Linked DNA regions of Homo sapiens: regions 1, 3, 4, 5, 6 and 7 are each linked to region 2. Evidence: promoter capture Hi-C in 16 types of primary human blood cells and fetal thymus (Javierre and others, 2016). All regions are on one chromosome and are shown on one strand. The core of a region is centred on a gene start or on the middle of the fragment in contact, and the rest is flanking DNA. Distances in the headings are between cores, read along the strand shown.

Region 1 (4,015 bases), core at 588-3,087, 690 kb after region 2:
ATATAGGAGCTAGGTTCACACTTTGATGGGATGACAGATTACGAAGTTTGTTACTATGAGTGAATCTAGAAGGTATTTGTCTGAAGAGGAGACCTTGGGGTGGGCTGGGATGGTAAGTGAGCTCAGTACTCCACAGGCTGCCCTTGACTTTACTCTGTACTTTGAAGGATGCAAAATTCAAGCGTCCTGGCTCCTTGCAGCAACTAGAATGTTCAGTAGCCATTTCTGCCACGTGGATAGAAATCTAAGGTCCAAAACAAGGAAGGGATCAAATCCCTTTGCTCCCCTCTGTCCCTTCCTCACTGTAACCTGGGACACTGACAGACAGACCTGTCAGTGATCAGATGAGAAATGGAGAGAGGCCCAGGAGCTTCACATGTGCAAGGGTAGGAGGCAGGCAGATGGCAGACCTGCTCAGCCTAAAGGTGCTTGTGCAAGTACAGGAGGTTCATGCAAGTACAGGAGGCCAGAGACAAAGCTATAAGCCCCAAGGACTCTCAGGGAGGCAGACCTCTTGTGTGAGGAAGGACTGTCTTTGTTCGAAGCCATCCAACAACGAAACTGGTAGGTAGTGAGCTCCCCATCACCATGAATGACCTCCCAGTGGGGCTGCTGTAGGAAAGCCCTAGTGGAAGAAGGGAGATGAAACCCAGATGACCATTATTTTTTATTTTATTATTTTATTTATTTATGTATCTATTTATTTATTTTGAGACCGTCTGGCTCCATCACCCAGGCTGGAGTGCAGTGGCGCAATCTCGGCTCACTTCAACCTCCGCCTCCCTAGTTCAAGTAATTCTCCTCCCTCAGCCTCCCAAGTAACTGAGATTACAGGCACACGCCACCACACCCAGCTAATTTGTGTGTGTGTGTGTGTGTGTGTGTGTGTGTGTGTGTATTTTTAGTAGAGATGGGGTTTCACCATGTCAGCCAGCCTGGTCTCGAACTCCTGACCTCAGGTGATCCATGCAGCTTGGCCTCCCAAAGTGCTAGGATTACAGGCGTGAGCCACCACACCAAGCCTATTTTTATTTATTTATTTATTTATTTATTTATTTAGGCAGTTTCTCGCTCTGTCACCAGGCTGGAATGCAGTGGCACAACCTTGGCTCACTGCACCCTCCACCTCCCAGGTTCAAGCAATTCTCCTGCCTCAGCCTCCTGAGTAGCTGGGATTACAGGTATGCGCCACCACGCCTGGCTAATTTTTTGTATTTTTGGTAGAGATGGGTGTCACCATGTTGACCAGGGCTGGTCTCGAACTCCTGACCTCAAGTGAATGCACCCGCCTCAGCCTCCTCCCAAAGTGCTGGGATTACAGGTGTGAGCCATGGTGCCTGGCCCCAAGATGACCTTTAAAGTCCAATTCCCCTTTTATAAGATGGCGTTTTTGCTTTAGGACAGGAAGTCATCATTAAATATTTTCTCTACCTGCCTAAGCAATGGAAAGATAGCTGCCACCTGCCTCAGAGGCATCCCTGGGACTGTGCAGTTTCCTAAGGAGGAACGGAAGGATCTTGAAGCTGAGTCAAGGATCACTGGGGGCCTCAAGCTAGTCTTGGCCACAGGTCTGGGGCTTCTATGGGTCTGTAGAGGTGACTGGATGGCTGGTGTCCCCAAAGGGACTGTTCTTTTTTTAATTAAAAAAAAAATTTTTTTTTAGAGTTGGGGTCTTGCTATATTGCCCAGGCTGGTCTCTAATTTCTGGGCTCAAGCAATCCTCCTGCCTCAGCCTCCCAAGTGTTAGGATTACAGGCATGAGCCACCGCACCTGGCTGGGGCTGTCCTCAAACAAGAATCCTTCGCCTTGTCATTGGAATATTCTTGCAACTTATCTGCAGGCTTGAAATCTTTCGAAATAAAGTTTTTCTTTAAAAAAAAAAAACACAGATTCTGATTTAAATATTTCAGAGCGAAGCTCAGCATCTGTATTTGTAAATTCTCCCCCAGGGAAATCCAATCTGCAGACAGAGCTGAAAAACACTGATCTAAATGAATTAGAGAAACGTGTATGTAAATAAAATGTATTTTATATATCAGAAATTCTTTGAGAGCAAATATCCAAATGACTTATTAATGTATACTATGTAAGTATGGGGGAGTTTTAGAAACTGATTTTTCTTTAAAAGAATCTTGTCTTTATTTAACCTATGAAGATACAGATGAGGCCGCGTGCAGTGACTCATGCCTATAATCCCAGCACTTTGGGAGGCCGAGGCAGGCAGATCACGAGGTCAGGAGTTCGAGATCAGCCTGGCCAACATAGTGAAACCCCGTCTCTACTAAAAATACAAAAAGTTAGCTGGGCAGGTGGCAGGTGCCTGTAATCCTAGCTACTCAGGAGGCTGAGGCAGGAGAATCGCTTGAACCCAGGAGGCAGGGGTTGCAGCCAGCCGAGATCGCGCCAGGCACACCAGCCCGGGCAACAGTGTGAGACTCTGTCTCAAAAAAAAAAAAAGCAAATGAACACATAATACCTGCAAAGCAAGAAGGCATCTTCCTTTTAATGTTTTATTTTGCCTTTGTTTTGCCTGTTAGTTGTGCCCACTTTGCGGTACAAAAAAATAAGTGAAATAAAAGTAAGTAAAAATGATCATTTCTGCTTACGTTTACAGCTCATTTCATATTCTGCAAAATGTTTTCCCGTCTGCTATCACCGCCGCCATCCTCACAGCAGCCTGGGAGAAAGGCAGAGCCAAAAGTCTCATCTCCACTTCGTGCATGGGTGATCTGAGGCCCAGTTAAGAAAAGTGGCTCTACCGAGGTCCCAGAGTTGGTTGCTGGAGGCACTGGCAAAGGAATCCAGGCTCCAGCCCCCTTCTCTGCCTCCTGCCATCTTCCAGTTGCTTTTTTCCTTTCTCTCTTTCTCTATCTCTTTCCCCTTCTCTCTGCCTTGAACTCTCTCTCTTTCTACTTCAACTTTCCTCTCCTTGCTCCAACCCTCAGATTGGAGTCAGCTTTGCAAGTTGTCCAAACTTTTTGTCACTCTGGAAACCTGCCAGCCCCATGGCCACAGCCCCATCTCATCAAAAGCTCAGCATCTGCACCTAGAGCAAGCCCTTTCCGGATGTCAGCGTGCAAAGATTAACTCTGGTCTCTCCATCTGGCCCTAGATAAGATAAGATTAGGAGAGCGGCACTATAAATAGGCCCCCATCCTTCCTCAGGCGCAGGCCCCAGCCAGCTCAGGCTACACTATCCCAGGATCAGCATGGCCGTCCGCCAGTGGGTAATCGCCCTGGCCTTGGCTGCCCTCCTTGTTGTGGACAGGGGTGAGTGGGCAGAACCTGGATTCTCTGTGGCTTTGTGTTGGTAGGTGAGCTTGGGGTGAGAGCAGAAGCAGGGCCTGGAGCACCCTGTGAGGCCTCAGCTTTTTCCATGTACCTTCATTCTGCATATGCACCCTCCACTGTGCTGGGGAAAGTTCTGGGCTGGGAGAAAAGAAACTTGGGTTCAAATCCTGACTGGCGCAGAATTACCAAAGTCCCCTACCCTCTTGGGGCCTCAGTTTCTCCAGCTGTAAAAGAGGGCATTGTTCCAGTTCAAAGCTGCACTGAGCAACTATTGGGCTGGAGGCTGTGGGGACAGAAGGGAGCAGGTAGGTCCCAGCTCTCAGGAGAGACTGACAAGTATGCTGGGTGCAGGGTGGTGGATGCTAAGAGAGACCTGGCCGAGGTCTTCTGAGCTCCCGATCTCTCTGAAAGGCTGTGGTTTGGGACTTGGGCAGCCATGTGAGCACGACAGAGCCCTTTCCCAGGACTGGACACATATACTTGGGGCAGGGCCCTCTCAGGATCTGGGCCATCCCTGCAATCTCACAGCTACCATGTCAGGCACTGTTCTGAGCCCTTAAGACAGATTAGTGACCCAAACAGAAAAAGCACGGTCCTGATGGAGCATAAATCCAATGGGGTAGAGGAAAAGGGGAAAGGCAATAAACAAGATGGTTACAATGTATGTTAAACGGTATGTTAGAAGCTGATAAAAGTTAAGGAAAAAATACTTGGCAGGGTGAT
Region 2 (3,619 bases), core at 1,000-3,499:
TCAGAACTGCCACTAGACTAAGATAAGCACCATGAGCATTACATAACCACAACGAACTTAAATATTGTTATTCCCATTTTACAGACAGGCTCAGGGATTTAAGGGACCTAGGCAAGGTCACATATCCTGTAAGTGGTGACGCCACGATTCAGTCTCATTGCTTTTTTGCTTTTCCCTGAGACCAAGCTCTTTCCAGTACACGGCCAGGCTCGCGCCCCTCGGGAGCGCTTGTGGGAAGCGCAACCCTCGCCTGCCCGCACCAATCCACAGGTGCGCGCAGGAGCCGCTCGGGGGCCCTGGCCCTGGCCCGCCGAGGCCCGGACAGCCCCGCAGGCCATGACCGCAACCCTCGGGTCCCGAGGCGCCGCTCCAGGCGGGAGCGCCAACTCCCACGGCCCTTCCGACCCCCGCGTCCCATTGTTCCGAATCTCACTCACCTCGGAGGATGCCGGCGCAGGCCTGGCTGGGGCGCTCGCCGCGAGCTCCCGGCAGCCCAGAAAGCTAGGTCGGTGTCGGCAGGATCCGCGAAGGCGTACCCGGCGACTTCTCCGCCTACCCTCCGAAGCGGGAGCAGGCGGGGGCGCTTCACCCTCCTCGCGAGACAGCGGAGACCCCAGCGGCGGCTGCGACCCCTGTGACGCAAAGGGCTCATCACCAATGGCAGCTCGGAAGCAGGGCAGAGAGCGAGACCCACCCCCCAGCTCCCGCGCATCAAAACACAACACCCGCCTTCCTCACGCATGCGCAGCAGATGGACGCCGGCCTCGGGGGCGGGGCTCAGCGCACCGGCCCAAATGCGGCCCCTCCCCCGCCGCTCCAGACCCCGGAGGAGGGCAGCGCGACCCTCCCCATCTTGTTACTGGTACTCAGCCACTGGGGACACTGACTGAATGTTCGCCCCTAACTTACCCGGAAAACACGAGAACTAGTTCGATGTCGTTTCAACCTTACCAAACTCTGCGGAAACTTAGGAAATTATCTTTAGTGTCTAGATAGGGGAATTGTTAGATGGACTTGAAGTCTCTCACCTCCTGTTGTACGCCTCCCGGAAGCAACACCAGGAGTCCAACGGGATCCCAAACCAGAGCCCAACCAGTATCCTATAAAGTCTTCAGAGAGGGATCCCCTCCAGGCTGGGGAGAAACAGGACAACCTAACAAAACAGGGCCTGGACTCCTCCCTAAACAGACCACGTTTTTCTCCGCTCTTCCCCTTCCCACTCCCTGAAATCTAGACTAAAACTCTTTTAAGATAACTGCGAGGTATAAAGAACGTCTAGAGCCTAAGCGGCCCGTTGCCAGATTCTACTCCTCAGGCCTCAAATGTGAGCGCCCCAAACATTCTAGAGCTGAACCTGGTACGCTCGCCCACCAAACTGCCGTGCTCGGGGCTTAGTATCTCACGCGCGGCAGTTCAAGAACATCAGACACGCTCAACAAACACTTGTTGCTTGACTGATACATTATGGCGGGTAACGCGTCCCACGTATTTCTTCTTAGAGATATACATTACGCTATACGTTTCTGAAGAATGGCTCGATTTACAGGGGTTCCCACAACGATTTGTCACATATAAAAGAGTGGGTGGTATTTTTACGTCAAAGATGAACAGGCGAACGTCCATCTAAATCGTGTGGTATCAGATGCGGGGAGGCGTGGGGGAGGGAGCGGGGGAGAAAGCGTTAATTCTTCCAGCTTTAGAGCCAGACGTAATATTTAAAACGTGGATTGTTTTTCAAATTAACTTTTAAATGGACACGACAGCACCTTATCCTGCATTAATATTGCATTGCAACTAGAAAGAAAACCAGTGGAGGTACGCCTATCTCCTTAGTTGGCAAAAAAAAAAAAAAAAAAGCAATTTTTAACATTTTCTCGTTTATTCCCCTCTCTAAAAGGCGGGCAAGGCCCCCGATCACGTGATACCGCCCCCCAACTCCGGGCGGAAGAGGCCAGCGACAGCGCTGCACGAAGCGAGTGGGCGGGCGCTCGTGCCCGGCTAAAAGATGGCTGCTGGCGCCTGGCAGCCACCGCCTGGGAGGTTACTGTAAGGCCCGCAGCTCCCGCCAGCTCCCGCGGACTGCTGCCGCCTCCTTACCATGAAGCCAGTAAGTCGTCGCACGCTGGACTGGATTTATTCAGTGGTAAGTCCCGGGGATCGCGGGCCCCCACCGTGTCGACTCACTGGGCCCGCAGGCGGAAAGGCCCTATTTCTTCAGCACCCAGAAACTCCAAAATCCATTCCTGAATTAAGCATTTCACTCCCTCACCTCGACTCCGCCTCTTCCTGGAGGATACGATCTTCCGCTTCTTACGTAAGGGCTGCTGGGTGTACCCGCCACTGGAACCCCATTTATTCGACTTTGTTACTTTAATTCCCACCTTAGCAATGGCAACGGTAACCTGACGGGGGCGAGGGGAAATATCAGGTAGATTTCACACCTCCTTTGCGATTTTTGGTTTAGTTGCTGCTTGCCATCGTTTTAATCTCCTGGGGCTGCATCATCTATGCTTCGATGGTGTCTGCAAGACGACAGCTAAGGAAGAAATACCCAGACAAAATCTTTGGGACGAATGAAAATTTGTAACTCTTCTGGATTTAATTATCTGAAAATACAGTTCTTTCCCTCATGCTTATGTAGATATAAAAATAAAATTCATAATGCAAAGTTCCCAAGTTTATTTTTGCATTATCCTTTATAACAAGCACTAGTATGCAAATTTTTCACTTAGAGATTTTAGTATTTTACATTCTCATGACAAAATTAACAGCAACCTAAATCTGACAGTCTTGAGTGTCAGATCATAGTTGGAATAAGCTTTTCAATCAAGTTTCTAAATTCTTCAAAAATGATTCGGAAAGCTTTTTTTTTTTTTGAGACGGAGTCTTGCTCTGTCGCCCAGGCTCAGTGGCACTATCTCGGCTTACTGCAAGCTCCGCCTTCTGGGTTCACACCAATCTCGTGCCTCAGCCTCCGCAGTAGCTGGGACTACAGGAGCCCGCCACCACGCCCGGCTAATTTTTTTGTATTTTTAGTAGGGACGGGGTTTCACTGTGTTAGCCATGATGGTCTCGATCTCCTGACTTCGTGATCTGCCCGCCTCGGCCTCCCAAAGTGCTGGGATTACAGGCATGAGCCACTGCGCCTGGCCGGAAAGATTTCCTTAAAACAAAAGTGCATGGAATTGCTGTTCTTACATTTGTTTATTGTGATATTTCACTGTTGCATACCCTGATACCAAATTAGTGTAAGTACTGTGTAAGAAAAAAACAAACAAACATGTAACTAAATACTTTTCCATACCGTTTTCCAAGTCAAGAATGACCAGAAAAAGTAGGTAGTCTCTCATATTTGTTTAGCATGTCCACTTTTTACTTATTGTTAAATTACTCAGTCTCAAATTGTACAATGCTTGAAAACAGATATGACAATTTCTGAGATTAAACTTTATTAAAGTTACTTTTCCAGAAAATTCAGTAAATATGGTAATATAGGAACAAACTTAGGCTCATAAGCCTTTTAACTTTTTACATAATCTTTAATGATGTTGATCAGGAAATTCTTTCATTGGTGGAATTACTTCTCCAGTCTCCAGAATTGTATCACCCTAGGAAAACA
Region 3 (3,602 bases), core at 374-2,873, 600 kb after region 2:
GATGTGTCCTTCCAGGGCTGTACAAAGGAGGGGGACCCCAACCCCTAGTCCAGACAAAGGTCCCTAAGGCAGGTGTACAGTATTGTGGGGATGAATTCATCAGCCACGAGAGACTGACCCATCTAATGTTAAATTCACTTCCCTGCTCTGACTGCTGACTCACCAGCAGTTAGCTTATCCTGCGGCTTCCCTTGCAGTGAATTCAGCCAGAGATTTCTAAGCTACTCAATAACAGTTCTAATCTTCCCAGTAAAGCTGCAACTTTGCATTCCAGTATGTAAGTAAGTCTCCTGGGAGTTTTATTACTGAGTCAGCTGCCCCTCTAATCAGTTTTGGAGCCCCAGCAGATTTTCTGGAGCTGCGGTGCTGACTACGAGCACATCCTTCTCTCTCCACCTAGAACCAGACCTTGGACTGTGGAGGGCCCACTACTCCTATGGGCCATCTGGGCACTCAGCCAGCCAAGTACTCCTGGCAATATCTCTCTGGTGTCAGGACTACTTTAAATGTAGCCAGCTCCAATTTCCTTCTCTAAGGAGTGGGGATAATTATGCCTTCCTTTCAGATGTAAGTGAAATAATACATATACATACTTATCGCATGTTCTTATTGAGCTAATAGATGTTCAATAAATGTTACTTTCCCTTCTCCCCTGACTCCTTAGAACTTCAGAGCTTACAAATTACTACAGCTCTATCAGCACACATGGCTAAATTTTCACATTTCTACTCTTAGCCACTAGAATCACTGATAGATTTGGAGGAAAACTCTGGGACCTTAAAGGGTCCCTGGAGTATTACATAAAGCTTCTTGCAGCATGAGAGTTGAACAGAAATTCTGTTCATCTTTTGCTGTCGAAGCCAAGTTGGTGGCTTCTAAAGAACCAACTTAGAAGAAAACTCAGGAGAAAAATTTTATCATTTTGGGATGGTGAAGACCTGCTTAAGTATGAAAGCAACCTGAAGTCATAAAGGAAAACATAGATTTAAACACATAAAAATTCAAAACTTCTGGCCGAGTGCAGTGGCTCACGCCTGTAACCCCAGCACTTTGGGAGGATCATTTGAGATCAGGAGTTTGAGATCAGCTTGACCTACATAGTGAAACCCCGTCTCTACTAAAACACAAAAATTAGCTGGGTGTGGTGGCGGGTGCCTGTAATCACAGCTTCTCGGGAAGCTGAGGCAGGAGAATCGCTTGAACCCAGGAGGCAGAGGTTGCAGTGAGCCGAGATTTCACCACTGCACTCCAGCCTGGGCGACAGAGCAAGACTCCCTCTCCAAAAAATAACATAACATAACATAACATAACATAACATAACATAACATAACATAACATAACATAACAACTTCTACATAGCTAAAGAAACCAGAGATAAAGAAGAGTGACAGATGGAGAGACCATATTTACAAATGATATGTAATAAACAAGAAAAATCCACAATATAAAAAGCTCCTGCAAACATATTTTTAAAACTAATAGAAAAATGGGTTAAAAGAAAAAGGGTAAAAAAAAATGGGCCAAAAAAAGGGTAAAAAAAAAAAAGGGTTAAAAAAAAGAAAAAAAAAGTCAGCTGGGCACAGTGGCTCACACCTGTAATCCCAGCACTTTGGGAGGCCGAGGCAGGTGAATCACTTGAGGCCAGTTTGAAACCAGCCTGGCCAACATGGTGAAACCCCATCTCTGCTAAAAATACAAATATTAGCCAGGTGTGGTGGCACACACCTATAGTCCCAGATACTTGGGAGGCTAAGGTGTGAGAATCACTTGAACCTGGGAGGCGGTGGTTGCAGTGAGCCAAGATCGGACAACTGCACTCCACTCTGGGGGATGGAGTGAGACTCCACTTCAAAAAAAAAGAAAAAATACTCACATAAGAAATACAAATGGGCAAGCCAGCCATGGTGGCTCACGCCTATAGTCCCAGCTACTCAGGAGGCTGAGGCAGGAAGATCATTTGAGCCCAGGAGTTCGAGTCCAGCCTGGGCAACATGGCAAAGACTCCCATCTTGAAAGAAAGGATGAAAAAAGAAAGACAGATGGCCAATAAACACGTGAAAATTTGCTTAACTTCATCAGTAATCAGAGAAACATATTAAAACAAGATACTATGTCTGAATATGATACTGGCAAATATATAAAGGTTAGTAACACCCAGGGCTGGTATGAGTGTGAGGAATAAGCACTCCTATACACTGTTAATGAGAAAAAGCCAGAGGGCAAACTGACAGTATCTATCAAAACGTTTAAAGAGCATGATCTTTAAATCTCAAATCAGTAACCTAACCTTCTACCTTAAGACACCAGAAAAAGCAAACTTAACCAAAAGCAAGCAGAATGAAAGAATAAAGATTAGAGAAGTTAATGAAGCAGAAAAATAAGAACAAAGAGAACAAATAATGAACTCAAAGTTGGTCCTCTGAAAAGATCAATAAAAATGACAAGCTTTTGGCAAGACTAAGAAAAAAAGAAAATTCAAATTATTATAATCAGTAATGAAAGAGGGACTATCCCTACACCAACTTTAACGGAAATAAAAAGGATCATAAGGAATCACTATGAAATGTATGCCAACAAATTAGATGACTTAGATGAAGCAAACTCCTTGGAAGACACAAACTATCAAAACTGACTTAAGAAAAAATAGAAGGTCTGAATAGACCTATAACCAGAAACTGAATTAGGAATCAAAAAGTTTTCCACAAAGAAAACATCAGGCCCAGATGGCTTTACTGGTGAACGCTACCAGATATTTAAAGAAGAATTAATAAAAACCGACCACAAACTCTCTCAAAATACAGAAGAGGAAGGAACACTTCCCTACTCATTTTTTGAGGCAGTATTACCCTGATACCAAAACCAAACAAAGATCTCACGACGAAAGAAAACGAACAGACCTTTTCTGACAGTGGTAAACAACTATGAAAGAGAAGAAAGGGAAGGGGAGGGGAGAGGAGGGGAAAAGAAGGGAGGGGAGGGGAGAGAGAGAGAGAGAGAGGAAGGAAGGAAGGGAGGGAGGGAGGGAGGGAGGGAGGGAGGGAAAGACTACAGACCACTATCTGTTATGAATACAAATCAACAAAATACTAGCAAACTCAATCCAGCAACAAATAAAAAGAATTATACACCATGACCAAGTGGGATTTATCCCAGGTATGCAAGATTAATATCTGAAAAATCAATGTATAATATACCATATCAATAGAATAAATGACAAAAAAACATGATCATCTCAACAGACACAGAAAAGCATTTGACAAAACCCATCACCTTTTCATGATAAAAATACTCAACAAACCAGGAATAGAAAGGAACTTCCTCAACCTGATAAAGGGCACCTAGGAAAAACCCACTGCTAACACCATTCTTAATAGTCAAAGACTGGATATTTTCCCCCTAACAAGACACATATGTTGTCTCTTAGCATATCTATTTAACATTGTACTGGAGGTTCTAACGGGGCATTTAGGCAAGAAAAAGAGCTGCTGTGAGAGTTCATGAAAACAATGCATCTGAAGTATTTTTACCATGGTTGGCATGTAATAAGTGCTGAACAAGCATTATCTTTCGTTCAGTGATGTAGGTGGTTGTTGATGGAGCCT
Region 4 (3,798 bases), core at 709-3,208, 670 kb after region 2:
AAAATAAAAAAGAAAAACAAAAGCCTTAAATACAGGCTATTTAGGTTATTGCTTCAGATTTTTCTTTAGTTAGGCCCGTTGTCATTTTTCCCTATTAACCAGTGGGTGGGACATTGTGAAGAAGACTACATCAGTTAGGGAGAAAGAATATAGAAATCACAGTTTCTCTGCACATTCTTAGTCGAAGTGTGATATAAATCTGTCACCACTCTCAGGGATGTGACTAACTAATTTAGAGGATTATAGGATGGAATATTTAATTATGATTACAGCAAACGTTAATGAGTAAAAGCTTATAACGTACTGCTAAGTGAAAAAGTAGGGCATGAAACGTATGGTCATTATGATCTGTCAACTATGTTAAATATGTACACAAATATGCGTAGGAAAAAAACTTGTAAGAAATTCACCAAAATGTATAAAGAGATGCCTTTAGATGGTGGAATTAGGGGCAGGATTTTTTTCCTTATATTTTTCTGTATTTTCTAATTTTTCTGTAATGAACATGAATTACTTTCGTAATTATAATTTTTCTTTTCTTCCATTTTTTTTAATGAGAGAGGGTCTTGTTCTGTTGCCCAGGCTGGAGTGCAGTGGTGTGATAACAGCTCACTGCAGCCTCGACCTCCCAGACTCAAACAATCCTCCCAACTTAGCCTCCCAAGTAGTTGGGACCACAGGTGCATGCCAATACATGTGGCTAATTTTTTAAAATATATTTTGTAGAGATGGGTCTCCCTATATTGCCCAGGCTGGTGGCAAACTCTTGGGCTCAAGCGATCCGCACACTTCAGCCTCCCAAAGTGATTACAAGTGTGAGCCACTATGCCCAGCCTCTTTTTCCTTTCCGGTTTTTTTTTTTTTTTTGGCAGGTCAATTGTTACACACTCCTTAGCAGATTCAGACTTTCAGACTTACATGGAACACCAACCTGCTTATTTTGTTTTTTATTTTTGCTTTATTTTTTTTTCTTTTTGAGGCAGGGTCTCACTCTGTCACCCTGGCTGGAGTGCAGTGGTGAGATCTCGGCTCACTGCCACCTCCACCTCCCGGGTTCAAGCAATTCTCCTGCCTCAGTCTCCTGAGTAGCTGGCATTACAGGTGCACACCACCACGCCCAGCTAATTTTTGTATTTTTAGTAGAGACGGGGTTTCACCACATTGGTCAGGCTTGTCTCAAACTCCTGGCCTCAAGTGATCCATCCACCTCAGCCTCCAAAAGTGCTGGGATTACAGGCCTGAGCCACCACACCTAGCCTTATGTTGTTTTTTAAGAAAACACACACATTATGTTATGCTCACGTTATCAGAAACAAATGAGACTGACCCTGGCAAGTCCCAACCAAGGAATCTGTCTCCAGATATGCCTTGGCCTGGTTGACTCTTGGAGTTAACCCTTCAGAAAGCAGGAGGCAGAGACCCTTCTGATGAGGGCTGCCTCTAGGAGTGGGACTGCTTCAGTGGATCCAGCTGAATTGTCCTGAGCAACTGTTGTAGAGATATGGGGAGTACTTAGTCTTCCAGCTGAGGCCAGGTTGGGCCACTGTGCAGTGGGCTGCTGGAAGACAAGTTGAGTCCAAACTAGCCCAGTTCTTGAGGAGCAACCACGTGACTCTATCACCGTGATATGCACAGGTTGTGACTGGTGTCCTCAGACTGGAAAACACAGTAGTGCCAGCTCAATCAGGATAGGAGAGAGACGTATACGTTGACATTTGTCTTCCTATCCGGATGAGTGTGGTCCTGCCTTTGGGCCTTTCCTTGGGCCCTCCCCTCTATGTGAAATGCCATCTCTACTAGCGAGATTCCTGTCTGATTTATTTGTTTAGGTAGAATAGCAAGAAGTCTACATCCTGATGATCCTGGGCATTGGGAGCTCACCTCACCTTCTCTGGACTCTGGAGGGCACACACATATGGTCCCTGCTGGGGGATGCTTCGCACACAGACCGTCTTCCAGAGGCAGGGGCAGGGAAACTGCTGTCAGGTGGGTGTTGGGATCTCTTTATATTTAGTTTTGTTGTGCTGTGGTTATTGATGTTGCGGTTTTCAGTTTCCTTCCCTCGTAGTTACTCCCCACCTGGGCTAGCCACTCTCTACCCATCACAGGCCCAAGTCTGTGAGAAGGGGCTTCTCTTAGGTCCTCACCAAGGCCCCTTCCCAAGGTCCCTTCCCAAGGCCCAACCTGCCCACAGTCTCACCGAGGCCAGCAGGGCCCAGGTCTGGGCCCAGGTCCAGTCCCAGGCAAGGGTATTGTGTGTGCTTCCTGATAGGTCAGGCCGCCCTGAACCCTCCAGGCACACTGGCCCTAAATGTGTCTGCTTCCTGAAGGGTCAGGCTGCCCTGAACCCTCCCTGCGCTTCCTCTTGTGACCAGTGTTGAAGATCAAGAGGAAGAGGAAGAGGCCAAAAATTCTTCACACAGAGCCCTGGGCTCCGAGCCCCTGTGGCCTGTCACTTACCTGGTCCACAGCAGAGGTGGTGTCTCTAGATGAGGGTAATGGGAAGCATCCTTCCCTCATGCCCTGCTCCCTTCCTCCGAGCCATACCCATTACACTGAGCCAGTCACGGCAGACATCTAGGCAGAAGGGACCACAGGGGTGGCCTCGTTGCCTGTCCTTGCTCCCTCCACACTGCATATCTGCAGTCTAACCTGCTGAATCACAGTCCTTGTTAGGTGAGGGCCAGGACAGGAGAGAAGACACTTCACTTGTTGCCACTACCAGTCTTTCTATACCCTATCTTTGTATTCTGTCTGCCTGGCCTAGTATGGAGCCCACTAGGTCAGCCTTTGACCAATACCCCACACAGAAGTATATTTTGGTTCTGTTTACATTCTTGTCAGAAAGCCCGCTATTTTAAGTCAGCGCCTCTCAAACGTGAATGCGCATAAGGATCACCCAGGGATCTTGCCACAGCCTAAGTCCTGATTTGGGAGTTCTAGGTCAGGACATTCTGCATTTCTAACAAGCTCCTGATACTGCAAAGATGGAAGGGACCCAGGCTTATTTCTAGGCTCAGATGAGGTCTTGCTTGTTCTGTGAAGATTATCAGAGTGCTGATGTCAGAATTAATCACTTCATCCATCATTTCCTGAACACCTGGCTCAGCCGTTGTCCCAGGTGCCAGCACAGTCTGCCCACATCTGCTCCCTGACTAGTCTGGGGGCTACTGGGACACGTAGTCTTTGTAGCCGTACTCCCTAGCATGGAGGATGCTCAGCAGTTTGTTTGAGCAAATTAATGAACAAATTAATGGCATTTGAAGGTGATTTGCAAAAGGTATAGGTTATTAATATGTACATATATATTTTGAGATGGAGTGTCACTGTGTCACCCAGGCTGTAGTACAGTGGCACAATCTCAGCTCACTGCAACCTCCGCCTCCCAGGTTCAAGCAATTCTTCTGCCTCAGCCTCCTGAGTAGCTGGGACTACAGGCACGCACCACCATGCCTGGCTAATTTTTTTGTATTTTTAGTAGAGACGGGATTTCCCCATGTTGGCCAGGCTGGAAGGTTGTTAATATTTAAGACATTTCCTAAACCGTGTTCCCTGGGACACCAATTCTGACACCAATTCAGAGGGATGTTAACAGATATTTGTTAAATGTGGTGGGGGAAGTGGGAAGCTTTTGTAATCACTTAATCCAAGAAATGCTGGATGAAAAATAGACTCCTGAAAAGCTTCTCACAGCCTTTAATAAACTAGTGGTCAGTGCCAGTGTCCCAGAGAGAGATCCAGTGAGCAGCATTTCGCTCACTTCGTTGACCATAGAGAATACCTCTTGAGAAGCACCTT
Region 5 (3,526 bases), core at 39-2,538, 920 kb after region 2:
CCATTGGTACCTGGTGGTAAGTAGAGGCAGTGACATCAGCACAGAGGTTGAGATGGCCTGAGGAATCCAGGAAGACAACGGAGAAGGCCTGGTGGAAGTCAGCCAGGGCCGGCTTGGGGGGTGTAGAGAGAAGCAGGTCAGGATTGGCACCTTACTTGCAGGCCTCCTGGCATAGACCTGGCCCTTCCCCAACTCACCAAAGAGGGATCTGAGCTGAGACATAAACTGATCCCGTTGACTGTCAGGTCTGTAGTGGCTGAAGTGAATCACAAGTGTATTAGAAGGTATCCCCTTCTGGGGACCCAGCCCTAATGACACCCTCCCTCAGCCGATTCAGTTTGCTCATCTGTCTGATGGCAAAACACCAAAAGACTGCTACTGGGATGAGAGGATTCCCAGGAGGAGTGGAGCCCCTGGCCTTTCCCCACCTAGTTGCCTCACCCAGAAACTGCAAGACACTTCTCAGGACCTGGTAGCCACTCATGGTGGTATGGATCTTGCGTGTAGACACAAGGAAGACAACCAGCATGGAGACAAGGAACCCAGTAAACCCACCCTGGCCCTGAAAGAGACAGGGAGAGGCTGAGGTCAGAGCCTGCCCATCACACAGGCGCTCAGGTAGGGAGGCTGCGCCACCCCCAACTCACCTTGTCCAGCTCCCGCTGCCGCAGCCAGACCTTCAGAAGTGCCACGCCATCCTTCAGGCCCTGGGCTGAACTCAGAATGGTTGACAGCAGCTGCAAATGGGACTCGAGAACTGTATCTTGCAGGACCCATGTGTTATAGCGGGGGGTAGGAGGCTCTGGGCTACCTGTGGGATGAAAAGGGAAGCCATGAGAGGAAAAGTCCCCACACCTCTTCCCTCCAGCTCCACCTCAACACCAGGGCCTGCTCACCATCCCCTGCAGGACTCTGCCCTCGGTACCAGGCAGAGCGCACATTGTTCTTGGTTGGCAGCAAGCGGCACGGGCGGAAGAAGTCAGGTGGAGGGCACGGATGCAGACGTACAGTGACCAGGCGCTCATCCTTTCCTGCCAGAGACAGTGAGTGCTGAGACTCTGCAGGAGCCCTTGGAGCCAGAGGGCTCCCCATCCTGTCCCCCCATACTTGAGGCCTCCGTGCCTCTGTGCCTTCTCCTCCAGATTTACCATCCCATGCTATGCCCTCAGCCCAATGTGTGCCTCTCACCACGCGGCCGCAGCAACAGTGAGGGTTTCAGGTGGCAGCCATTTGTGTAGGAGAAGCAAACACTGCCAAAGAGGGGGTCCTGGGCCAGGTGGTGAGCCAAGTGGGCCAGGTAGAGGGCACGCTTGCGGAAGTAGCGCTGGTTCAGCCCGTCCTTGTCCTGTAGGATTTCCTGGAGGGGCCAGGGGAGAAGAGAAGGCCAGGCACATAAGTGCTTGTGGAGCTGTGGGCCAAGGTGAAACCAAGGTGAGAGAGCCAGGGCTCCTCTGCTGACAGAAGTGCCTGAGCCACGGTTAGCAACACTAGGCCCAGTTCTCATATCTGGAGAGCAAAGCTCCAAAAGGACAGCAACTGGCCCGAGGGATCTAAGCTGCCTTCAGGATGCCTGCAATGGTCTGCTCTTCTGATTTAGAATTCTGACTTCAATCCCCTGGCAAGCGGCAGATAAGAAAGAGGGATCCAGGATTTGTAGGTAGTCAGGTGGTGGGCCTCTATCCCCTAAACCCTGGACCTTACCCTGGGCATGGTCAGTGCCACATCCACATTGATGTCTGGTCGGATGCAGGTGCCCAGAAGGTAGCTGCCCACAACAGTAACCTGGGCTGGGGGCAGGAAGCGGAAACAGCCCTTCACGGCATAGGGCACTTGGTGGAGGGGCACTCGAACCCCAGCTGGGAGCCATGCCTGGTCAGTGAGCTGTGGGGGCAGAGACAGGGACACATACTGATTCAACTGCCTTCCTCACATGTACCCTTTATGTCTAGAAGACATTTTAACACATCGATATGTTTGAAACCAAACTCCCAATCTTCCCATAACTATGTCTTCCTTGCTAAGACAACTCCATATGAGTTGCTCAAGCCAAAACCACTTAAATCACCTTAACTTAGCTCTGTTAAGAATACCCATTTTACGAGCCGGGCGTGGTGGCTCACGCCTGTAATCCCAGCACTTTGGGAGGCCGAGGTGGGCGGATCACGAGGTCAGAAGATCGAGACCATCCTGGCTAACACGGTGAAACCCCGTCTCTACAAAAATAATTAGCCGGGCATGGCGGCGTGCGCCTGTAGTCCCAGCTGCTGGGGAGGCTGAGGCAGAAGAATGGCGTGAACCCGGAAGGCGGAGCATGCAGTGAGCCGAGATCGCACCACTGCACTACAGCCTGGGGAACAGAGCAAGACTCTGTCTCAAAAAAAAAAAGAATACCCATTTTACTACCAAAATGTATTCAGAAATGGATCACTTCTCTAAAAAGAAAACTTTTTTAAAACAGAGAGAGGAAAAGATTTAAAAAAAAAAAAAAAAAAGAAAGAAATGGATCACTTCACTACTTTCCTCCCTAGTTTGAGGAGCCACCATTTCTCAGTGCCTAGACTAGTTCCTAACTGGTCTCTCTAATCTCATCATTGTCCCTCTCGATTCTACTTTTGACACAACAGCCGGAGTAAATTTTTCTAAAACTAAACTTTTTAAGGCTGGAAAAGTGAACGTTTTAGGCTGGGCACGGTGGCTCACACCTGTAATCCCAGCACTTTGGAAGGCCAAGGAGAGCAAATTACCTGAGGTCAGGAGTTCAAAACTAACCTGGCCAACATGGTGAAACCCCCTCTCTACTAAAAATACCAAAAAAATTAGCCGGGTGTGATAATCCCAGCTACTCGGGAGGCTGAGGCAGGAGAATAGCTTGAACCCGAGAGGTGGAGGCTGCAGTGAACTGAGATCGCGCCATTGCACTCCAGTGTGGAGGACAAGAGCGAGACTTCGTCTCAAAAACAAAAACAAAAACGTGAACTTTTAAAAGTTAGAGGGCATCACTGTTCTGCAAAATAAAATCCAGCAGTGGCTCCCCATCTCACCCAGAGCAACAGCCAAAGTCCCTACTTCGGGACACAATGCCCTGCATGATATGCTACTTTTCCCCATCACCTTTCTGAACTCATCTCCTTCTGTATTCCTCATTCATTCCAAGGAATGTAACTGGAACATTCCTGCCTTTGTGCCTTTGTACTGGCTGTTCCCCCTTCCTGGAATGCTTTTATTCCCTTAGATATCTATATAGCTGACTCACCTACTTCAAGTCTTTACACAAATGTCACTTCAATAAGGCCTACTTTGTGAACACCCCCTTTAAACTTGTAAACCACTCCCATCCTCTAATACTCCCAATCCCCTTACATTGCTCGTCCTACTTTTTCCTTTTTCCAGTGTTTACCACATTCTAACATTGCCATAGAGTTTACCTGTTATGCTTATCTATTAACTATAACCTCAGCATTACAGCATAGGCTATTATTTACTGATATATCCTAAGAACACAAATACTGCAAGGCATGGAAGTACT
Region 6 (3,789 bases), core at 493-2,992, 750 kb after region 2:
TTTAGGGTATATTGGGAGAAGAGTGATTCATCCACTTACAGAGCCCAGGATCTATGATGGTAGGGGAGTGGGAGATGACTGGAAAGGAAGGGCTGACCCTTTGATACCAGTCTCAGATGTTGGGACTTCATTTGGAAGGCTGTGGGAAGCCACTGAGGGCATCAACATGATTCTTTATGGAGATTAGTTTGGTAGCAGTGAGTAGAGTATTTTGGAGCCTAAATAATTTGGGACTTATAATCCAGATGAAGAGTAGTACAAGCCTCTAAGGAGTGTGATAGAAAAATATGGTGTTAGGTTGATTCCTGACAGTAGTAGGAATGGGAGTCACCCAAAGTTTCATGCTTTTGGAAATGGTGATACCAAGGAAAAGGGCAGGTCAAAAGAAGAAGGTCTGGTGGGGACAGTGACTACAGTTTAGAAATGTTGAGCTGGAGGAGTGAGCAGAACATACAGTGAAATATGTCCAACAGGCAGGTAGCAATATTTGAGGAAAGACCAGGACTTAAGGATGAGAATCACAGCTGAGAGGAGTAGTTAAGACCCTAGCGGATGAAAGGGTACAGAGTGAGAAAAGGGTGTAATGCAGAACACTTGCAGGGGAAAGAAAAGCAAAAAACCCCAAAACATCATTTGGAGTCAGGGACAAAAGGTAGAGCTCTTGAGAGATGTTAGAGGAAAACCAGGGCACTGTATTGGAGCAAAAAAGCACAGAGGCAGGGAGGCTTTTGTGATAGTCTGGAGATGAGGTTTTGGCCAGTTAGAGAGGCAGGAACAGGAGAGCGATGAGGTGAGAGCCACTTTGTAGGAAAAATTGACACAACTTGGTGATTAAGTAGAAAGAGGTGTCAGAGATGACTGTAGTTTTTGAGCGTGTGTGACTCTGACAGAGTTGACGTCACTGACAGAAATAGGAAACCCTGAAAAGGGAGGAGTTATAGAGGGAAGATGTGAACTTTGACTGTGGATAAAGCCAGTTTGAGGTGACTGTGAAACCCCAAGCAAGAATGTTCAGCAGACATTTGGACATATGGGTCTGAAACTGAAGATTCAGGGCAAGAGAGAAAATGTGGATTTGGGGATCAATGGCCTTTAGGTGGATTGCACCTCTCAACATGAATAAAATTTCTGAAAGAGATAGTATAGAGAGAAAAGCAGAGGCCATGGACTGGGGATGGCTGCAATTTAGTGTGCAAATTGCCCAAGTGAGGATGAATTCCTCAAGGGCAAGGAGGAATCCTGTGCCTTCGTTTTACTCTTCCCTGTCTCTGCTGAGTCCATGGAAGATGTGCCATGAAGATTTGCAGTGACATTGATTATAAAAGTATAAGGTCTTTTATGCCGACTTTATAGTTCTGGAATAGGTGAGTTCCTGCTACTCGGGATTTATGTCCTTTCCATTTCTTACTGCCTCCCCCCTTTCCCCACGGTGCTCTTCTCTTATTCCCTCTCTCTGATCCTTCCAGCAGCAATTCGCATATCAGTTCAGAAGTCCAGTTATAGACGACTTGTCTTATAGGTATTTATCTTAAATTAAACGTTTCCATTAGTCAAGATAGTATTTTCGTAAGTAAAAGTGACTTTTTATTTATCTTTCCCAGGTAATCCAAGATTTAAGATTTATCATACTCAGTGAAACTTTTTATGAATAGCATTATATTTATCTTTTTATTTTAAGATATGGGATAATACATTTGTTGAAATAATAAAAACCACACTAAAGTTGCATGCTGCCTAGCTATACTTTACTGTTTCATTAAAGTTGAGAATGTGGTTGAAGTTTGTACCATTGACTCTCTGATCTGATATGTTCTAGGCAAGGTAAAGAATCCTGAGTGGAGCAGAAATGAAATTCCACATAGCTGTGGTGAGGTTTGTAGAAAGAAACAGCCTGGCCAGGACTGCCCACATTCCTGTAACCTGTAAGTTGGAATGCTAATTCCGTTGGGATTGCTGGTGGACATGCTTTGCTGGTGGCTCTAAGTAAACATACCTGGTTAGCATGTAATGGTTTGGGATGAAGGGTGATATGGGACCTCAGTAAATGGTCTCAAATCACCCTGTGCCAGGCACTCTACATCAGTTAACTTGTTGAATCCTTACCACAGCCCAGTAATAGATATTTACCATCTCTGCTTTACAGATGAGGCTCAGAAAGGCCAAGCCTCTTGCCCAGCATCACAGTGGCAGGGCGTGGATGGTGGAGCTAGGGTTTCCAAAGCCAGTGCTGCTTCCATTACATTACACTGCTTGCTTCTAAGAAGAAATGTGACTCATATGTTTTATCCCGCATTGATATCCAGGTCCAAGAGAATGTATGGGAGAACCTTCTGTCTGGGGAAAGACAATTGTTTAGGGTCCCGGTCGGACAGTATTTCCAAGATGTCAAGATGTCAATCTTTTTCTTTCTTTCTTTCTTTTTTTTTTTTTTTTTTTTTGAGACAGGGTCTCGCTTTGTCACCCAGGCTGGAGTGTGAGTGTGGTGGTGTGATCACAGCTCACTGCAACCGCCGCCTCTTGTGCTCAAGCCATCCTCCCACCTCATCCTCCTGAGTAGCTGGGACTACAGGCGTGTGCCACCACGCCTGGCTAATTTTTGTATGTTTTGGTAGAAATGGGGTTTTGCCGTGTTGCCCAGGTTGGTCTCGAACTCCTGGGCTCAAGCAATCTGCTCTCCTCAGCCTCCCAACATGCCAGGATTACTGGTGTGAGCCACCACACCCAGCCATAGGATGTCAGTCTTTTCCCTACAATAAATAGCCAGCTGTAGATTATATCCATAAGCCAGACACGGTGGCTCATGCCTATAATCCCAACACGTTGGGAAGCCAAGGCAGGAGGATTGCTTGAGGCCAGGAGTTCTAGACCAGACTAGGCAACAAAATGAGACCCCGTCTCTACAAAAAAATTTAAAATTAGCCAGCTGTGGTGGCACACACCTGTAGTCCCAGCTACTTGGGAGGCTGAGCAAGGAGGATCATTTGAGTCCAGGAGTTCACGGCTGCAGTGAGCTGTGATTGCACTATTGCACTCCAGCCTGGGCAACAAAGCAAGACCATGTCTCTAAAAATAATAAATAAATAAATAAGTAGACTGTATGCAGTCAGCTTCTAAATACCAAAAAATGCACAGTAATAGAAAAACAGTTGATCAGTTACAAATAAATTTCTACAGGCCTTAACCTCAGACAAAGGTTTAAATCTTAGGTTCAAGTTACTTAAATAGTTATGTAACCTTGGACAAGTTATTAATTTATCTAAGCCTGCATCTGTAAAATAATAATGATAGTAATAATAACACTTATAGGGTTCTATGAAAATTAAATGAATTAGTGCATCTATGCGGCTCGATATAGAGTCTTTCTGGCAAGTGATCAAAAAATGACAATTCTTACTTTTACTACCCAAATCTAAGAGTAAACCAGACATCAGAGTGTTATCTTGGTATTTCTACTGCTTGGAGGAGGGATAATATTGGACCAGGGCCTTGTGATCAAGGCATGGTGGTGGCGCTGGGGAAATGTCAGTGGGGGTAGAGCTGTTTTAAACTGGGCTAGACAGCATGGCCTGTGATCTGCTGGGCAGTCAGATACCTCATTCCCTTTGACTGCTCGCATAGGTCCTTCCTTAGGAAGGAGTTAAGCTATTCTTGCCATTAGTTGTCATTTTCAGTAAATTCAGTAATAAGAAGTTAATCCTGGCTGGGCGCGGTGGCTCATGCCTGTAATCCCAGCACTTTGGGAGGCCAAGGCGGGTGGATCACGAGGCCAGGAGATCGAGACCATCCTGG
Region 7 (3,839 bases), core at 1,263-3,762, 740 kb after region 2:
ACTTTGGGAGGCCTAGGTGGGTGGATCACCTGAGGTCAGGAGTTCAAGACCAGCTGGCCAACAGGATGAAACCCCGTCTCTACTAAAAATACAAAAATTAGCCGGGCGTGGTGGTGGGTGCCTGTAATCCCAGCTACTTGGGAGGCTGAGGCGCAAGAATCGCTTGAACCCGGGAGGCAGTTTGCAGTGAGCCGAGATGGTGCCACTTCACTCCAGCCTAGGCGACAGAGTGATAAGATTCCTTTTATTTTTCAAACCAATGGGGCTGTGTCTGTTGTCCCCCTCGGTCCCCAGGGGTGGGGGGGCCTTGGAAGGCAGGGTGGTGTTGGGGGGCTGGGGGGCAGGCTGAGTGTGTGTGTGTGTGTGTGTGTGGGTGTGGGTGTGTGTGGAGTGTGGGTGTAGGACTCCAGTCCCAGCTGCTGCCTAGGCTCCTGTGGGTCCGACCGGGTTCCCCCTCCCCTGTCCACCTTCCCCAACAGGGCTATAGTTTCAGGGTGTCCCAGGCCTTGGCTGGTTGGCTGGGCCCAGCTCCTGGGGGCTGGGCAGGGCAGGGCAGGGCAGGGCCGGGTCCACTTCCATTGTTAGCAGTTGTTTGCAGAATTTTCTCTGTTACCATTCCTCTCTTTTTGTTCTCGCCCAGAGTGGGTGGTTTTTTGTTGTTGTTTTAGATTTTCATGTGAAGGCAGAGAGTTTTTTTTCTTTTTTAACTCCCCATCCCCCTATGCGGGGTGTCATTTCACCATCCACATCCTTGTTTGCGTTTCTGGCCCTCGTCCTCCCTGCCTCTCCTCTGCCTCCCCAACCCCCGCCTACCTACTGCTCCCAGGGGTCTCTCCAGGGGCAGGGGGATTTCAGGAGATGGGGTGGGGGCCAGCCCCTACTGGACCCTTGTAATCTGATTTGAAGACCATCCCCCTGATGGGACCAGCAGCCCCGCTGGCCCACTGGGGGTCCCTCTTAACATCTGCTTGTTGTGGGGGTCAGTGCCACGGTCTGCTGGGGTCTTGGCACTGTCTTCCTGGCCGGGGCCTGGCACCTTAGCCCCCAGCCGGCCCGAGTGGGGGATATCGACACCCCCAGCTAAAGCACAAGCACCTTAGTCATCCCTCCTCTCCCCCTGCCTCCTGGCCTGCCACCCCACCCCAGCGTTTACCCCAAAGCACAATGCCCTGGTCACTTGGCAAGTGGCTGGGCCTGACGGAGGCCAAGGGGCAGACCGGGGCTCCAGCCAGACCCCCGAAAGGAAGCAGGTGCTCCCCCACTTCCAGGACTTAGTTGGGGCGGGGGGCCCAGCTCCTGGGCCTAGGGTCTTCTCACCCCCACCCCCTTGTCCTGGGTAGGCCCCTGCCTGCCCCTCTCTGCCTTTTCCTCGGGTGTCCCTCCTCGAGCCCCTGCGGCACTGGCTTGGGTGGCAGAGCCCACTTGTTTCAGGGACCCCAGGAGGTGGTGCCCCCTGGCTCCTGGGACTGTGTGTGGGTCTGGGGGGTGGGGGGGTGGGGAGAAGCGTCGGGCAGGGGGTGCAGGGGAGGAAACTCCTCACCAGGAAAGCCAAAGACAGGGTTGTGCCTTACCTCAGGAGCCACCCGTTCCCCCTTGCCCTGCCGTTCACCCTCCACCTTTCCCCCCGGGCGGCCTGCTGCTTTTTCCTTCTCTTCCTCCCCTGCCCTGCCCTGAGCTGCATGGTTCCCCTACCCTGGGAAGCCAGGAAGGAATCTGAATGGAGAATCACCAACCACCAAAGAAAAAAAGACTGCGGGGCCCTCCCCTGCCAACTCCCCTTCCCTGGCCGCCCACTCACCCACACCTCTTTCACGCAGGACAGGCTGCCCACCCTGTCCACGTGAAGTGCCAACGCCCTCCCCACCCTGGGCCGAGCCCCCACCCCTCCCTGGGCCCCCAAGTGAGATTGCACATTTAACTACTGTAAGGAGAGGAGCGGCGTTGGCAAATGTGAACCATGAGAATATCGGTGATACTGATGAGAATAAACGCCTTTGTAAAAAAAAAAAAAAAAAAAAAAGTCTGGAGCCAGGCGTGGTGGCTCGCCTGTAAGCCAAGCACTTTAGGAGGCCAAAGCGGCAGGATCGCTTGAGGCCAGGAGTTGGAGAGACTAGCCTGGGCAACATGGCGAAACCCGTCTCTACTAAAAATAGCTGCGCATGGTGGCTCCGCCTGTAGTTCCAGCTACCGGAAGGCTGAGGCGGGAGGATTAGAGACTGAAGCTATAGTGAGCCATGATCAGACCACTGCACTCAAGCCTGGGTAAGGCAGCAAGACCCTATATCAAAAAATAAAAAAAGGAAAACCACAATGATTACGCAAGTCGCCGCCCTCCCTCCTGCGATTGTTGCTATTTCCATCCAGCTACTAGTCTCCTCCTCCCGCCCGACACCTGGCGCGTCTATCTGACGTCACGAACGCGCCACACAGATTCGGGCTGCGCAACCTCTGTGGCCGTCTACACGGCGCGCAGATGCGAATATTCTCGCGGCGCCGGAAGTCCGGGGCACGTGACCTGGTGACAGTGCTGACTTGGCTGTACAGCTCGATCTAGGTTCTGCGGCACGGGATGGCGGAGGCGCCTCCTGTCTCAGGTATTGTCCCGGCCCGAGCGGGACTGGGCCCCTTTCAGGGAGCGGAAATTGGGTCAGTGACGAAGTTCTAGGGCCTCAGCCACTCATATCGCGAGAGTAGCACATGCTAGGGCGTAGGATAGTGGCTCGGAAGGGCCAAGCCCCGCGCATCGTGCGTACGAAGATCTGTGTCTTCTTGGACTAGATGGTGAAGCCCAGTAGCTGGGTTTCGGAGGAGAGAGGACTTGTCCCGGCGCTGCGAGTCGATGTGGGTGCCCTGCCTTCCCACAGGCTGTTTCTGGGGCAGCGGCGCACTGACCTTCGACAGGCGGGCGTCGGCCAGGTCACAGCCAGTGACGGTGGCGGGCTCTTGACGTGTAGGGTGTGGTGTGCTCATACCGCCTGGAGTGGTGGCGTGGGCGCGAGCCGAATTCCAGTAGTTTAGAGTCTCAGCCTGCTGCGAACCCCGTGTGACTCAGTCTCAGTCTCCTCATCTGTCAGTTGGGAGTAGATAAGTTAATTCCTGTGATGGCTCCCGCCCTGTACTGTACCTATTCTGTAATTGTTCACTCACTCCCCCTCCTGGAGTTGCCTCAGTGTGTAGAGACAGCCTCATTTGTTCGTTGATATAACATCCATTTCCTCAGGGTGTTCCATAGATCAGTGTTTTCCAAATGTGTTGGACAGCAACCAAAAGAAACATTTTGCATCGCGACCTTAAATATTGTACACTTACATAAATATAAAAGCGAACCAGAAGTTTCTGGAAGCAGTGAGGTTGGTTGGTTTGTTTTACAATCAGCAATATATTCTGTTTTCTGTTTCGTTTAAAAATATGTCACAGCCCACTGCCTTCATTTGATTTTATGGCCCACTCTGGAAAACAGGGCAGCAGTTTGCAGAATGGAGTTTGGAAACCATTGGTTTGAATCTCAGCTCTGTCCCTGACCAGCCGTTGGGGCACCAAGAAGACCATATATGTATTTGTATACTGGGTGGCAGGTAAAATGTATTTATTACTATGGTTCTTAGTTTAAAAAGTTAGGGCCGGGCGTGGTGGCTCACGCCTGTAATCCTAGCACTTTGGGAGGCCGAGGTGGACGGATCACGAGGTCAGGAGATCGAGACCATCCTGGCTAACACGGTGAAACCCCGTCTCTACTAAAAATACAAAAAATTAGCTGGGCATGGTGGCACGCGCCTGTAGTCCCAGCTACTCCGGAGGCTGAGGCAAGAGAATTGCTTGAACCCTGGAGGCGGAAGTTG

The links. Contacts are between HindIII fragments. The CHiCAGO score rates a contact against its expected background, and 5 or more counts as called.
Region 1: a contact is called between a fragment that was not itself captured here and the fragment with the promoter of TOPORS in region 2, in 1 of 17 cell types (neutrophils). The highest score is 6.8, in neutrophils.
Region 3: a fragment that was not itself captured here is called in contact with the fragment with the promoter of TOPORS in region 2 in 1 of 17 cell types (neutrophils); the score reaches 6.3 in neutrophils.
Region 4: a fragment that was not itself captured here is called in contact with the fragment with the promoter of TOPORS in region 2 in 1 of 17 cell types (neutrophils); the score reaches 6.8 in neutrophils.
Region 5: a fragment that was not itself captured here is called in contact with the fragment with the promoter of TOPORS in region 2 in 1 of 17 cell types (neutrophils); the score reaches 6.3 in neutrophils.
Region 6: a contact is called between a fragment that was not itself captured here and the fragment with the promoter of TOPORS in region 2, in 1 of 17 cell types (neutrophils). The highest score is 9.5, in neutrophils.
Region 7: a contact is called between the fragment with the promoter of NFX1 here and the fragment with the promoter of TOPORS in region 2, in 1 of 17 cell types (neutrophils). The highest score is 6.0, in neutrophils.

Annotation. Positions count from the first base shown.
Region 1 is chr9:33,236,999-33,241,013 of GRCh38, forward strand. SPINK4 (serine peptidase inhibitor Kazal type 4) reads left to right here and starts at 3,169. Exons shown (of 4, transcript NM_014471.3): 1 at 3,169-3,271. The coding sequence starts at 3,211. The HindIII fragment of the contact is 4,489 bases long and covers 1-4,015 here.
Region 2 is chr9:32,550,337-32,553,955 of GRCh38, forward strand. TOPORS (TOP1 binding arginine/serine rich protein, E3 ubiquitin ligase) reads right to left here and starts at 2,250. Exons shown (of 3, transcript NM_005802.5): 1 at 2,098-2,250; 2 at 438-632. The coding sequence starts at 2,100. SMIM27 (small integral membrane protein 27) reads left to right here and starts at 1,991. Exons shown (of 2, transcript NM_001387564.1): 1 at 1,991-2,143; 2 at 2,465-2,671. The coding sequence starts at 2,099. The coding sequence ends at 2,587. It overlaps NDUFB6 (NADH:ubiquinone oxidoreductase subunit B6), which reads right to left. Exons shown (of 4, transcript NM_002493.5): 4 at 2,665-3,608. The coding sequence ends at 3,540. RefSeq lists silencers at 251-310, 811-1,030 and enhancers at 1,310-2,024, 1,671-1,880, 1,891-2,220, 2,025-2,738. The HindIII fragment of the contact is 29,085 bases long and covers 1-2,816 here.
Region 3 is chr9:33,151,024-33,154,625 of GRCh38, forward strand. The region is part of intron 1 of B4GALT1 (beta-1,4-galactosyltransferase 1); the gene reads right to left. Among named protein-coding and RNA genes, the nearest start is that of B4GALT1-AS1, 14 kb to the right of the region's middle. RefSeq lists an enhancer at 2,678-2,797. The HindIII fragment of the contact is 1,639 bases long and covers 805-2,443 here.
Region 4 is chr9:33,219,123-33,222,920 of GRCh38, forward strand. No RefSeq gene overlaps it. Among named protein-coding and RNA genes, the nearest start is that of SPINK4, 19 kb to the right of the region's middle. The HindIII fragment of the contact is 3,336 bases long and covers 291-3,626 here.
Region 5 is chr9:33,468,311-33,471,836 of GRCh38, forward strand. It overlaps NOL6 (nucleolar protein 6), which reads right to left. Exons shown (of 26, transcript NM_022917.5): 4 at 1,702-1,881; 5 at 1,189-1,357; 6 at 897-1,031; 7 at 648-811; 8 at 442-562; 9 at 198-256; 10 at 11-112. Among named protein-coding and RNA genes, the nearest start is that of MIR6851, 2.1 kb to the left of the region's middle. The HindIII fragment of the contact is 4,549 bases long and covers 1-3,526 here.
Region 6 is chr9:33,305,378-33,309,166 of GRCh38, forward strand. It overlaps NFX1 (nuclear transcription factor, X-box binding 1), which reads left to right. Exons shown (of 24, transcript NM_002504.6): 5 at 1,817-1,922. Among named protein-coding and RNA genes, the nearest start is that of NFX1, 17 kb to the left of the region's middle. The HindIII fragment of the contact is 4,959 bases long and covers 1-3,789 here.
Region 7 is chr9:33,288,004-33,291,842 of GRCh38, forward strand. It overlaps NFX1 (nuclear transcription factor, X-box binding 1), which reads left to right and starts at 2,513. Exons shown (of 24, transcript NM_002504.6): 1 at 2,513-2,594. The coding sequence starts at 2,570. It also overlaps the pseudogene LOC100862682. RefSeq lists enhancers at 442-1,403, 2,109-2,528, 2,539-2,588, 2,558-3,757, 2,739-2,788. The HindIII fragment of the contact is 6,050 bases long and covers 1-3,839 here.